2 separate regions of the Homo sapiens genome follow, and region 1 is linked to region 2. The links are contacts of gene promoters, found by promoter capture Hi-C in human tissues and cell types (Jung and others, 2019). All regions are on one chromosome and are shown on one strand. The core of a region is centred on a gene start or on the middle of the fragment in contact, and the rest is flanking DNA. Distances in the headings are between cores, read along the strand shown. Region 1 overlaps PTPRZ1 (protein tyrosine phosphatase receptor type Z1). Region 2 holds the start of PTPRZ1 (protein tyrosine phosphatase receptor type Z1).

Region 1 (6,344 bases), core at 2,542-5,041, 41 kb before region 2:
TCACTTGTTTTCTGATGCTATCTGATTCTTAGTCTGAAGTGCTCTTTAGTTTTAAGGGTAAGTATGGACACTCACTGCACATTGAAAATACAAATCCTGATATTCAAGGGTGAACCATTTCCCCACTAGCAATTTAAAAAAATTAAACACTTTGATGACATCTCTAATTAGTAGGCTTTTCATTGTTAACGAGCACCTAGCTATATTCATCACTGATTTTGCTCATAACTGTACAAAAAAGATTACATCTACTGCTTTATCGGTACATAAAAATCTTTCATTGCCAGTAGACTATGAAGTGATAATTACTAGTTATCATTTTATTTCCTTGTATTGTACAGTTTATTTGAAGTGAGCGGAAACTGTGCAAATCCTATTGTCTCAATTAGTACAGCTTAAGTACGGTCTAGCTGGCTAGCAGAATCATTTTAGTGGCTTCACATTCCTCTGCTGGATACTTTTAGTCCCCATCTCATGCCTCTACTCTTTGCCTAACATCTCACTTGTACTTTCTTTTCTTTCTCAATTTAATAGTTGCATTCTCCATGGAACTTGGGGCCTCCACAATGCCCATTCTGTGAATCCCCAAAGTGAGGCCTTAAGGAGAGGGGATTCACTTCAACCACCAATCACAACATGCTTATCTTCAAGTCTTGTAATTGGTGACCTATCTTGACCAATGACAGCACTGGGTCTTACTGGGCCACTGCTGCAACAGCATTTCCCAAATTTTGCCTGAAATTTGAATGTACTCTGCAGTGGCAGATGCTCAAAGATGCTCATTAGGTAGCCTAGATTACACAGGTTTATTGCACTCAGAGGAACAACATTTAAAAAGCATTCCTGTTCAGTACATAATTAATAGTCTTGGAGAATACATCCCATTAGTTACTTTTTATACACAATTACAAATTCTTGGCCAGGGGTTAGATATTATTTATTTTGGAATAGTTAACTCATTTGGAACAAACATGTTTTCTCTCCAGGTTTACTGTTCTGTTTGTGAGGATGTCAAGAGACTGAACAAGTTAATGTAGTGTTTTTGGCCAGGACTCTGCTGGCATTTTGCCCTGGACTTACTAGGCCACTGGGACACCTAGAGATAATTAACATACTCCTGCACTGTCTAATGTGATAATGGTAACGGTTAAATAAAAATGAACTTTTTTTTTTTTTTTTTTGAGATGGAGTCCCACTCTGTCGCCAGTCAGGAGTGCAGTGGCACGATCTCGGCTCACTGCAACCTCCGGCTCCCAGGTTCAAGTGATTCTCCTGCCTCGGATTTCCAAGTAGCTGGGATTATAGGCGCACACCATGACGCCCAGTTAATTTTTGTATTTTTAGTAGAGACGGGGTTTTACCATGTTGGCCAGGATGGTCTCAATCTCTTGACTTCATGATCTGCCCGCCTCGGCCTCCCAAAGTGCTGGGATTACAGGCATGAGCCACTGCGCCTGGCCAAAAAAGAGCATCTTAAAACAGACCACAGGTAGCATTATTGCACATCAAAGGAGCTAGCTCTGTGGGCAAGTCAATGTTTCTCTCTAAGTCTAGGAAAAAGAAAAAAATGTTTTTATGAAAGGATTTACACCTTGGAATTTACATATCATAGAACACAAAGACAAAGATATTGAAATGTAACCTGTTTTCCTTAATAGATTTTTTAGCATCTAAGTGATCATATCTTTCTGAAGTTTATACTTCTGCCATTAATTTCATTAATGGCAAATATTATTTTGACAGAAGATGTTTATCTGATAAGCTATTATAGATCTAGCCAAGGATACACTGATTTAACCTTGGAAATAAGATCACATAATATGCATTTTGTGTTCAAGCGGATCACAAACCAGAGTATAATGCCTAAAGTTCTTTAATATGTCATTCAAGTTCATTGGTAAATTAAGAAAATAGTGACTGCTGAAATACAATTTATTTTAAACTACCTTGTTTTTTAACTTCAGAAATGGCTTGCAGAAACTGTCATCTCCTGCCATTTTAAATGATATGCACCTCTAACTAACTTAAATGTCTTGCTTCACATACTATTTAAATGAAATGAATGTTTCTTGTGAGGATAAAATTCCCAGAAGCCTCTCCGGTCTCAGAGCAAGGGGCATTAGTAGGCAAAGAAGTTCTGCATTTCCCAAGAGGACCTCCACCAGACCCCTTGAGGCTATGCACTCACTTCCTACCTGAACCTCCCAAATAATACAGTAGCTGGAGAATGTGCTGTTCCCTCCTGATCAGGGAGTGTCTGGTGATTTGGGATGGTGATCCATTCCAAGGAATCATGATAATACCATCAGCCTGACACAGCTTTCTCATCTCACACAAAGCTCCTGTCATTCAGAAGTATGTGTGCAGTATACGGCGGTGCTCTAGTGGGTCTTGATTAGCAGGGAGAAAGACTACCCCCATCTCCCTGACACATCCAAAAAGAATTGATGCAGTTTTCTAAGCCCTTCATGTAATTTTGCCCTCGTTTCCAGTCCCCCAAATTACTTACGGGAAACTTAGCAGTAATTGTAGACGTAACAAGAAAACCTTGGAAACTTTTCACATGTAATGTCAGCATGGTGCCTGGCACATGAGTGAATAAATGAAAGTTACACATCTCACATCATGTTCAGTTCTGTAGTTAGGAGAGGTATAGGTAGAGCAAGTATCCAGTAAAAACCCTCAAGAAGAAAAGGCATTGAGGATATTATTTCACGGTCCTCAACAATCCCATTATGTTGTTACTTTAACTACATTTTTTACAATTTTGGTCTTTAAAATACCATGGACCACCAAGGATATTTCAACAAAATAAGATTAATAGATGATTTATGATTTTAATGAACTTGATTCTTTAAATTCAAGGCACGTCCCAAGGATTTTTCACAAAAACAATTGATCCTTTTCATGGCTTAATGCCACTGTAACTTCCTCCACACAGCTAGCGGATTGCCATGGACACACACTCGGACGCCTTTCATTCTCTCCAGGTCTCCAGAAGTTTACGTTTGAGGACAAAAAGAAAGAGCAGAGGAACCTTTTCTATACATAAAGCTTACTTGGGACCTTAAACAATATGCACCTTTGTAATACAAATTATTACCAGAAATTTATAGTATGCTAAAACGTTACTTCTACACCACTTAAAAAAAGAAGTAATGTTTTAAAAATCCAGAAAATATCAAGTAATCATAAACCAGTGATTTAAGACAGTGGTAAACACCTATGATTTCACAGAGGTGTAGCAACCCACAGCTAAAAACAGAAATGTCTGGTTTCTGTTTCTTTCTTTTACATATTTATTTAGAGACAGGGTTTCACCATGTTGCCCAGGCTGCTCTTGAACTCCTGGGTTCAAGGGATCTGCTCGCCTCGGCCTCCAAAAGTGCTGGGATCAGAGGCATGAGCCACCACACCAGGCCAGGTTTCTGTTTCTTTTAAATAGGTGCTATACACAGAGATAAAAAGGATAAGGTATGCAATTAAAAAATGAATACAGACTGTGTAGCTGGATAATTCTAGGCAGAGTTCCAGTTTTTTTCCCGGGAATTAGGTTAGACGGTTTTTGTCTGAACTTTATTAATGATTTTCTGAATTCTTTACTTAATATATATGTGTGAATAAGTTGAGAATTCTTTTGGTTGAACATTAAATAATTTGAAATTTCACTCAATCTTATTCTATTTTACTGACAATACTCAATGGAAAAGAAATGAGAGAAAACTTTCCCCCATACCTGCTAAGGTAAGATAATTTTTTAAATCTTTTCATAAAAAACCCCAAGATAAACTTCCATATTGTGGACCGTCTCTGTGTCAATTTGTAATATTTATAAAACTAGCCAGGTTAAATGCAGTGTCATTTTATCAACTACCTATTTGCTGAATAAACCAATTAATTCAATGACTATAAACACACAAGAAGGGCCAAATTAATAAAACATCCAGATATTTTATTTATTCCATGCACCTTGCTGGTGCTACAGATGAAAACTTTCTGAGGTCACTTCCCCTAATGCAAAGCTTCTCAAACTATTTCATATTATGGCTCAGTTAGAAAGTGATAATGTTCTTTGTGCCTTGGAATAACACATAAGAGCTGAGCGGATGAATATTTGACACACGTGTAATTCACGAGTGGCACCAGAGCACACTGAGTGGGAAGCCTTGCCTCCCTCAAGCACCTGGTCTCAGGGCCTTTGCTCAGCCATTTCTCCAACTGGGTATCTCTACTTTCTCCTTTCTCTGCCTCCTCACCCAATCCCAAGCCTTCTCATGCATCATATGGTATCTTAATACCATTTCTTTAACTTTTACGGTCTTTCTCACAATTATAATTGAGTAATAATTTTTTAATATTTGTTTACTGTGTCATGAAGGCATGAACTGCTTAAGAATTCAAAATGTGCCTATCTTGCTCCCTGCTGCATATTCAACACCTAACCTAGGCAAACGTGCTCTGTAAATATTCATTACATGAATAAATGACAAATTTAGGATTTATAATCTTAGAGGAATGTTCCCTGACACCCATAATTCATTTACCCGTCTCTGTTCCCCAACCTTTTTCAGATCAGTGACTGCTAAATCCTTCCTTTTATGATCAGGAGCAGACTGAACATTCTGTTCTCACCAAGAAAACAGAAAACGGGAAATTTTGCAAGTTCCCTCCTCTTCACCTTTTAACTAAGTTCTATTTTCATCATCGTCTTTCTCATTGTATCTCATAGAGACAGATGCCACCACTCTTTTCCCATCCTCCTACCTTCTCCAGGATTTTCTGGACTTCAATCTCTCCTTCACTGAACTGTTCTTTTAAGCCCCTGTAACATACTTAAGCACTGCTACCCTAAAAATTCCCCTTCCCTTAGTCTCACCCGCTTCTTTACCAAATGCACTAAGCATCTATATTTCCATGCATTTTTCAAATGGTAGCTGTCATATTTCAATGAACATACACCTGTATGTCTCTCTTCTGCCTATGGATTACTTTAAGAGCAGAAACTAGTACACTCTTCGATCCTCTACATCATAGTATCAGACACAGAGTAAGTGCTCATGAATATTTAACACAATGAATAAAAAGAGATTCCTGGATACAGAATGAGTACAAACCAGTGCTAAACACGTTATCAACTTCATAACCATCTCTTATATTGTTTCCCATACTTGACTGCTATCAAAGAACAGTGGATAGGGACACTATATTGATAATGAAATGTAAGCTTTGCCTTGTTATAATTTTCATATAAAATGGTTGCAGTTAACAATAAATATATGAACTTTATTTCTAATTCCCTCTAGGATTTACTGGGCTTTCTTGAATTTATCTAATACTTCCTGCTGTTCAATTACGGACATCTTCAACTACACATTAGTCCCTTATGGATAAAAGAATCTTAGTTTCATACACTGGAAAATGCTTCATCATAATTTTTTATTTCAAATATAACAAGGAAACAGACACTTCTGTTTTCAAAACAGGTCTACTTTTATTAGAAACTCATTAACAGAACTTAAATTTTTCCCCGTTAAGTTCTTACACTGAAATAAATGTAATGACTGACCTTTAGTTATCTAGGTGCCTGTAATATTGAATAGCTTATTGAGATATTGAATAGCTTAATAAAGTGAAATGTATTTCATATGAACATATTTCATATATATGTGTATAAAATTAAAGTTTCCAAAATATAATGCATTTTCTTATATGATATGTGATAGATCATATGACAGATGTAATGCTTTTACAACCATACCTTCCTATCTCCCATCTAAGTTTCAGAAAAGGAAGAGGCTCTGAAAGGATAAGAAAAGGAAAGAAGATAAGATAAGGAAAGGATAAGAGAAGGAAGAAGTTAAGAATCAGAGACAGTGGCAAGGTTGCTGTTCATATTTGCTAAAGATGTGCATCAGAATTAGACATGAAAAGTTATTTTAAATGTACGCAATCTAGAAACATTTATATGGAAGAAAACCACAATATACACGTAACTAGTTATGACTACTGAGACAAGAAAAAAGGACTTTATTTCACAAAAATGGCCAGTTACAGTGCAATCAGATTACTCTGTCATCAGTATTTTCAAATATACAGTCAAAATGAAGATATGGATTTTTAAATTATGCGAAAGCTTAAATCCATGCAGGTCATAACTGTGCATATAATTATTAAGAAATATAATTTATTTTCAAATCAAACTTTATAAATGTTAGTGAAATTGGTTTCCATAAAATTATAAATAAGAATAGAATACTATGTTTTTAATAGAAGAAAGCACTATTAAATAAGTACAATATTAAACCTTTCATTACTCTTAGGTATGAGCTTTTATAGTTCAAAGC
Region 2 (6,532 bases), core at 2,878-5,377:
ATTGGGAAGGAATACACAGGCTGAATCAGGATTTGTGATGTTAGGCAACTTATCTGAGTTCTCTGTGCCGGGTTCCCTCATTTGTAAAAGGTGTAAGATGAAAACACCAATATCAAAGGGTTTTGAGGAGAATGAAATGAGAAAATGTACATAAAATGCTCAGTGCTGAAACTGCACCTAGTAGACACTTGAGCAGATGGTAACTGAAAATGAAACACAGGCTCATCTTCTTAATTATGCCTTCCTTTGAGATCTTCTGGTCCTGACTGAGGGGGTTCCATTTCCATGCAACAGTCTGAACGGTCAGCAAATGGGTGGTCAAGCAAATCTCTCACTTTAGACAGTACTCAAATCTTTTCGGAGTTAAAGGGAATGAGAAAACGCAGCTTATGCTTCCAGAAAAACCTGAATTTTTGCCAGAAGCAAAATTCCCACAACATAAAATTTTAAGCAAGATCTTGAATCTCTAGTGCAGACATGAGAGTAGAAATGAATTCATCAATGAAATGATTTCTCCTGGCAAACTTCCCTGACTGGAAGCAACCACAGTATACGTAAAAAGGAGAGAGAAATGAAATAAAGAAAATTGCAACTCTGCAATGAAAAGGAATTAATTTTCTGAATAGAGGCTAGTTATTATTTGGGAAAAAGGCATGAATATTTTTTATATGTGGTTACAATTTGTTTTCAGAGGATAAATAGATCAAACTGAGAGTCACAACATATTGAATTTCAGACTCTATAACCAGCATAAATTAAGAAGTTAATTCTTCCAGAGGAGTTGGGTATAATTTATTGTTAATGTGGCTCTTAAAGCAGTAAGATGTGACTGAGAAGTACAGAATCTGATTCATTACATATTTAATAATAATACTTAAACATTTGAACTTAGTGTACCTTGCAGCACTATAATTCACTTAATTCAAAGATCCTGAATTCCTTCATTAATTGGAAGAAATTATTCCTTAAAAGCTCTTAAAATATCTACCTCTCCTCTATGACTCATAGTTAAGCCTCCTTACAGGAAAGCCACTGTAGTTTTTCCCATAAGATACACCTGTTCAGTGGGTCAAGAAAAATTTGTTTTGGTTCATGTATTCTGATAAATTTTTTGTCTGGAAAGTTATTTGAAAGAAGCAGTTGGTCTATTATGTCCAGTTCAAAACATCAGGACATTTTAGATACAAAATGATCTGATCTGATCACTAAGACATTCTTAATTGCCAATAATCAATATCTTAGTGAACTCTACAACTTGTTCCTGGATAATGGTAAGAATGACAGCCTAATGTTCAAATTGTATTGAGCTCTTCTCCTGTACAGCAAGTTTTAGTCAGTTGACAGACCCTTACTGAGCACTTAATACATATGTCAGGCTACCTCATTGGCTCTAAGAACACTGAAGATGAGGGGTAAACGCATCCACAAACACTGAAGTAGGTGCTGAGTGAAAAATAATTGAAATGGAGCCTAACTTTTTCATTTGAAGATAATGTGCCTCACTTTTTCAAAACATGCTGCCCCAAGATCAAGATATTTATGTTACTTGATGTTGCCAATGCCTCCAGGTCAGCCTGTTGGCAACTGTGTAAAAGGCCAACTTTGTTAAAATGGTGAGGAATACAAAAGTAGTCACCTTCCAGTCTCAACAAAACTCACTTGGAGTTCCAATGCAAGCTTACATTCAGTAGCATTACATAAGCTTGTGATAGTCTTTAAAAGTTAATTAAATTCTTTACACTTAAATTTTACATCACCAAAGACTTAAAGAAAATGTCCAACAAACTGAAAACTATACAACCAAAAATAGGCTACAAATAATGCTTTACAGAGAAAAACCTTTGCAAATGTGATATATTTAGTATATTGGCATAATGGAATATTACTCAGCCACAAAAAGGAATGAAGTACTTATACATACTATAACATGGATGAAACTGAAAACATTATGCCAAGTGAACAAAGACAGACAGAAAAGGCCACAAGTTGCATGATTCTATTTATATGAAATGTCCAGGATAGGCAAATTTATAGAGACAGAAAGTAGATTAGTGGTTGCTAGGAGCTGGGGTCATGGAGAATGGGGAATGGCTGCTAAGGAACATGGGGTTTCTTTTTGGGGTCATTAAAACATTCTGGAATTAGTGGTGATGGCTGCACAACTTCACGAATATATTAAAAACCACTGGACCATTTTAAAAAGATGAATTGTATAATGTGTGAATTTTATCTTTTTTTTTTTTTCAAAGAGATCCGCAACATGCTCTGGGCATGTGGTTTTGAAGACATACAAAGCAATACTCTCTGGTTTATTTCCTTGCTACTGTGATATTTACTTACATAATTTAATTACTAAGAGGACCTGCCTTCTTTGTTAAAATAGATCTACAATAGAAATGTGAATTCAACAGATGTTTGATGACCACGTACTTTTTAAAGCTGTCTTCCCCTCTCCAGAACTGACTATAAGGTTTTAGAATCAATGGAGACCAGAGATTCCCTTGCATGTCTTATGTGTCAACTATGCATCACACCACCCCAAGCACTTTCATAAAGCCTTTGAAATTTAAATTATGTCCGTGTGTGGGGGTCTATGGGCAATTATCACCGTATTTGCAATGTAATTTTCATTTATTAGAACTTAAAAATAGTTTCTGTTTGTAAAGGTTACTGTGCCAAGAGCAGCACCATCTATTGGATGAAAATGTACGCTTAATATCTACTCTACTATGAACCATCTAAAATTGAAAAATTGGGAGCCTCTGAAAAGAATTAAATATGTGTACTCACAAAGCGAAGTACAACACTTTGTAACTTTCAGGTTAATGCGTAAACCCATTATATTCTATCGCGATGGAAAATCATGAAGGAAAAAAAGCATTTCTTTAATAAAACGCAAAAGTCCAATCTTGCACTTCTCGAAAATGACTGGAAAACTTGAGTCTGCATCGCAGGTAAAGGGAATGCTTAAACTGGCTATTGCTGAATGCAATTTCAGTTTTAAATGTAACCTGGAGGGTGCAGATGAAAAATGAAATCTGTGAATAAGTATATCAACCTGCAGCTCTCCTCTGACTTTGGCAGCACTGACCAAACCTAGAGATTTAGATGGAACTTTTTTTTTTGTAAGTAATTGCGCAGACTTGAATATGACTAAATTGAAAGTAATAAAAAAAACCCTGAAAAGTCAGGTTGGTGCTTGTGCCTGTTACTACCTTTCAGGTGTGTGTGTGTGTGTGTGTGTGTGTCTGCAATTCACACCAGACACGTGTACTTTCCATTTAAGCCCATCATACCTATAGCATAAAAATGAACAGCAAAAAAGACAGTACAGTACACAGCCCCGCACCACAGCTGTATTTCTGGTCATTTATCTTCCTATGTATATCTAAAAGGCGATTTCTACACTTTGCAAAAGAGGAGAGAAGAACGGTGGCGGCAGGGATCCGAGTAGCCCTCCGTCTCCAGTAGCTCCGTCTCCTGGGGCCCGGGGCACGAATGCCCGCGGGCCGATGGAAGGGGCGAGGGCGCGGGGCGGGGAGGGGGCGCGCAAATCCCACGCAGCTGCCTGCACCGCGCGGCCGCCCGCTCCGTGGGAGCCCAGTTGGCTGTCCCTTTTTCCTCCTGGCTAGATGGCGGCGGCGGCGGCAAGTCGCGGACACGCTGAAATGCTCCCACCCTCATCCCACCGATCCCGGAGCTGAAACCCCACCGAGCTCTTCTCACTCACCCAGGCGGCAAACACAGAGGAGCTGAATGCAAGCGAGGAAACGCTTTAGGATTCGCATTTCCAGACGGTCTGCGGCCCCTCGCCGTGCGGCTCCTCTGCTTCTCAGAGTGGAGAGGGAGGGGGAGCGAAGGAAATGTTTTTTTTGTTTGTTTGTTTTAATCCTCCAGTGTATAGATCGAAGTGAGATCGTGCGTGCGTATGTGTGTTTGTGTGTGTGTGTGTGTGTGTGAGAGAGAGAGAGACAGAGACAGAGACAGAGAGAGACAGTCAGAGACAGCGAGAGAGGAATAATCTGGAGAAAGCCGCACGGTGGTGGGGCCCGGGGCCGCTAGCCGAGGCGCATGTCCTCCGGCGTGCGGGACTTTGCCTCTTTCGCCGGCTGCGGCGGCCGCGGTCTGAGCGCTCCGAGAGCAGCGAAGCCTCAGTGCCGGGTGCGCGCTCCAGCCCGGCTGTGCGCGCCGCGGCTCCTGGAGGGGGCGGGGGCGCAGGACCGCTCCGCTGGGAGCGTGCCTCGGACCCGGGGTCGCGCGGGGGGCGGAGGGGCGCGGCTGCCGCTCTGGGTCCGGATCCCAGGGTAGCAATTCACACACCGACAATCCTCCCTCTGTCCGCTGCCAGTGGTTTCGCTGCCCTGGAGTTAGAGGGATCCGCTGGGGTTTCCAGTGTTCGCAGAACATTGGAACTCCTTCATCACTTCGGAAGGGAAGGGAAGGGAAGGCCGGACACCCATTGTCCCGCACAGCCAGAGGTTGACCTTTGAGTTTCACCTCTAAGAGTTTTTTTCATTTTATTGTTTTCTGCAGATGCTTAAGTGGGTCCAATCAGAATGCGGTGGGGGCGCCTGGGTACATTGTTTCCCTCCCTTTTTTCTTTCCATTTTCCTAATAAAGCAGTAGACCCCATTGCCTTTGGGAGAGTTGACTCCAAAAAATCTCCAGCCCTGATTGTGACCAGTCTGACCCTGCCCTTTCCCTAGACCCCAACGAAACTGCCGTGCTGGGCACAGCTGTCTGGGGGGACTTTCAACACGGCGGTGGTCCTGCCAGACCGAACCACACAAGTGCCTCCTCCCACAGGGTCGAACGGGAAGATTTTTTATTGCTTGATTGAAGGGTATGCAAAAAATGTATAATGCATACCTTCTGCTGCCTTAGAGCTGGAAATGTCACCCTCATGTGCTCTTTTCTTTGGTGGTGTTCAGAATTAGACTGTGAGCGCCTTGATGGCAGGGAGTTTACCTTTATTACTATAACCCCAGATCCTAGCAAAATGGCCTTAAAAAAAATCAATAGGTGTTCCCTGAATATTTGTTGAATTAATTTGAAGCCAAAAGGAAATAATGAGAAGGTAATTGGTGGTAGTCTCTACACTGAAAATTTATGAGATTTTCATTTATATGATATCCTTTAACTATTAGTACATGTTTTTCGTATATGAGACCCACTTTAGAGCCTTTTAGGAGTCCCATCTAAGGCACAGAAAGCCAAGTTGTGGAATTATCCCATGTATTCTTAGTAACAATTTGAAGTAGGTATCTGTACAGTGTATACTCTTGTGTCCTGTTCTTGTCTCAAAAATAGTATTCTAGCTTTAAAAATTTTAAAGAAAACTTCCTGCACATAAAATTGGGTTCTGAATGTATTTCAAGTGTTACTACGAGTTCTTGCTAATATCCCAGCCTGTGAACATTTGGCTAAATGTGCAAGCTAATGGCAGTTTGCTGTTGCTTCAGGAATAGATTATAGTCATGTAATAACAGATTTTGAAACCATTTAGTGTTTATTCAGAAACACATATCAATATTAAGAAGTTGATCCTTGATCTTATTCTTTCCATGAACAGAAATAGAAATGCTACAACTTTTACAAGAATTATGATGGGGATTGATGGCTGCTCATGTGAGTTTCCATATAGGAAGAAAATTTGGGGGCCATTTTTTTTTGCTAGCATTACAAGAAGTATGCAGGTGTATAAACTGACTGTGCACTGAGAGTTCAGAGAAAGTTTTATTTAATATTGACTGGAGTAGGCAGGAAAGCTTTCCTAGAGATGTGTAGTTAAACAAGAAGGACTAGCAGGGAAAAAAACCATGTCAAAGGCAGTGAGGACAGGAAGGAAAGAAGCAGATGTCATATGCCATTAAAAAAACAGTGTGAATTACATTTGAGCAGATTGAGTGGGGTCAGACTGTGACAAACATTGATTTCCCAGTGGAGCAGCTTATATGTGAAATACAACACAGGAGGGACCACAAAAGAAACTCCTAAGAACTTCTGCTATTTAGGGGAAGCTTGGTTTGCTTAGGGGAATTATGGTGTTCCAGTAGGTTCCAATTATCAAGGATACCCCAGTAGCCTGCAAGAATAATCCAACAACCACCATAACCCTGAGTTTTCTCTTACTGGACAAAAAAATCACATCACTTGTCAATCTTTTGAATTAGATCACCAAACAACAACACTGTTGAAATAAATTTCCCTAGTAAAAAGGGAAGGGGAATATGTGATTTCTGCTAATTTTGTTCTCATAGTTAATATTACTGTCATTCCCTGGGAAGGCACAAAAGCCACCTGGAGGGAGTAGTCATGTTGCTATTGAGGTTTGTATGGGATTCAGGATAGAGGCCAATTCTGTGAGACTGAATGACAGCTGTGGGAAACTGACTGGAGGACCAGTGAATGTGGTTCTGATGATCTCTGGGAGGGATGATGGAGTAGGAGGTTGAGGTCCTTGGAATATAGGTCACTGTAACAGCCAAGGCATGGGAGAAGAGAAGGCATCAGCAGAGCAGAAACATCAAAA

The links. Contacts are between HindIII fragments. The study calls those that stand out against the background at their distance.
Region 1: a contact is called between a fragment that was not itself captured here and the fragment with the promoter of PTPRZ1 in region 2, in 7 of the 25 tissues and cell types used here (H1 embryonic stem cells, dorsolateral prefrontal cortex, heart left ventricle and 4 more).

Annotation. Positions count from the first base shown.
Region 1 is chr7:121,911,110-121,917,453 of GRCh38, reverse strand. The region is part of intron 1 of PTPRZ1 (protein tyrosine phosphatase receptor type Z1); the gene reads right to left. Among named protein-coding and RNA genes, the nearest start is that of PTPRZ1, 41 kb to the right of the region's middle. The HindIII fragment of the contact is 4,966 bases long and covers 1,309-6,274 here.
Region 2 is chr7:121,870,756-121,877,287 of GRCh38, reverse strand. It overlaps PTPRZ1 (protein tyrosine phosphatase receptor type Z1), which reads right to left and starts at 4,127. Exons shown (of 30, transcript NM_002851.3): 1 at 3,731-4,127. The coding sequence starts at 3,788. RefSeq lists an enhancer at 3,670-4,171. The HindIII fragment of the contact is 8,425 bases long and covers 42-6,532 here.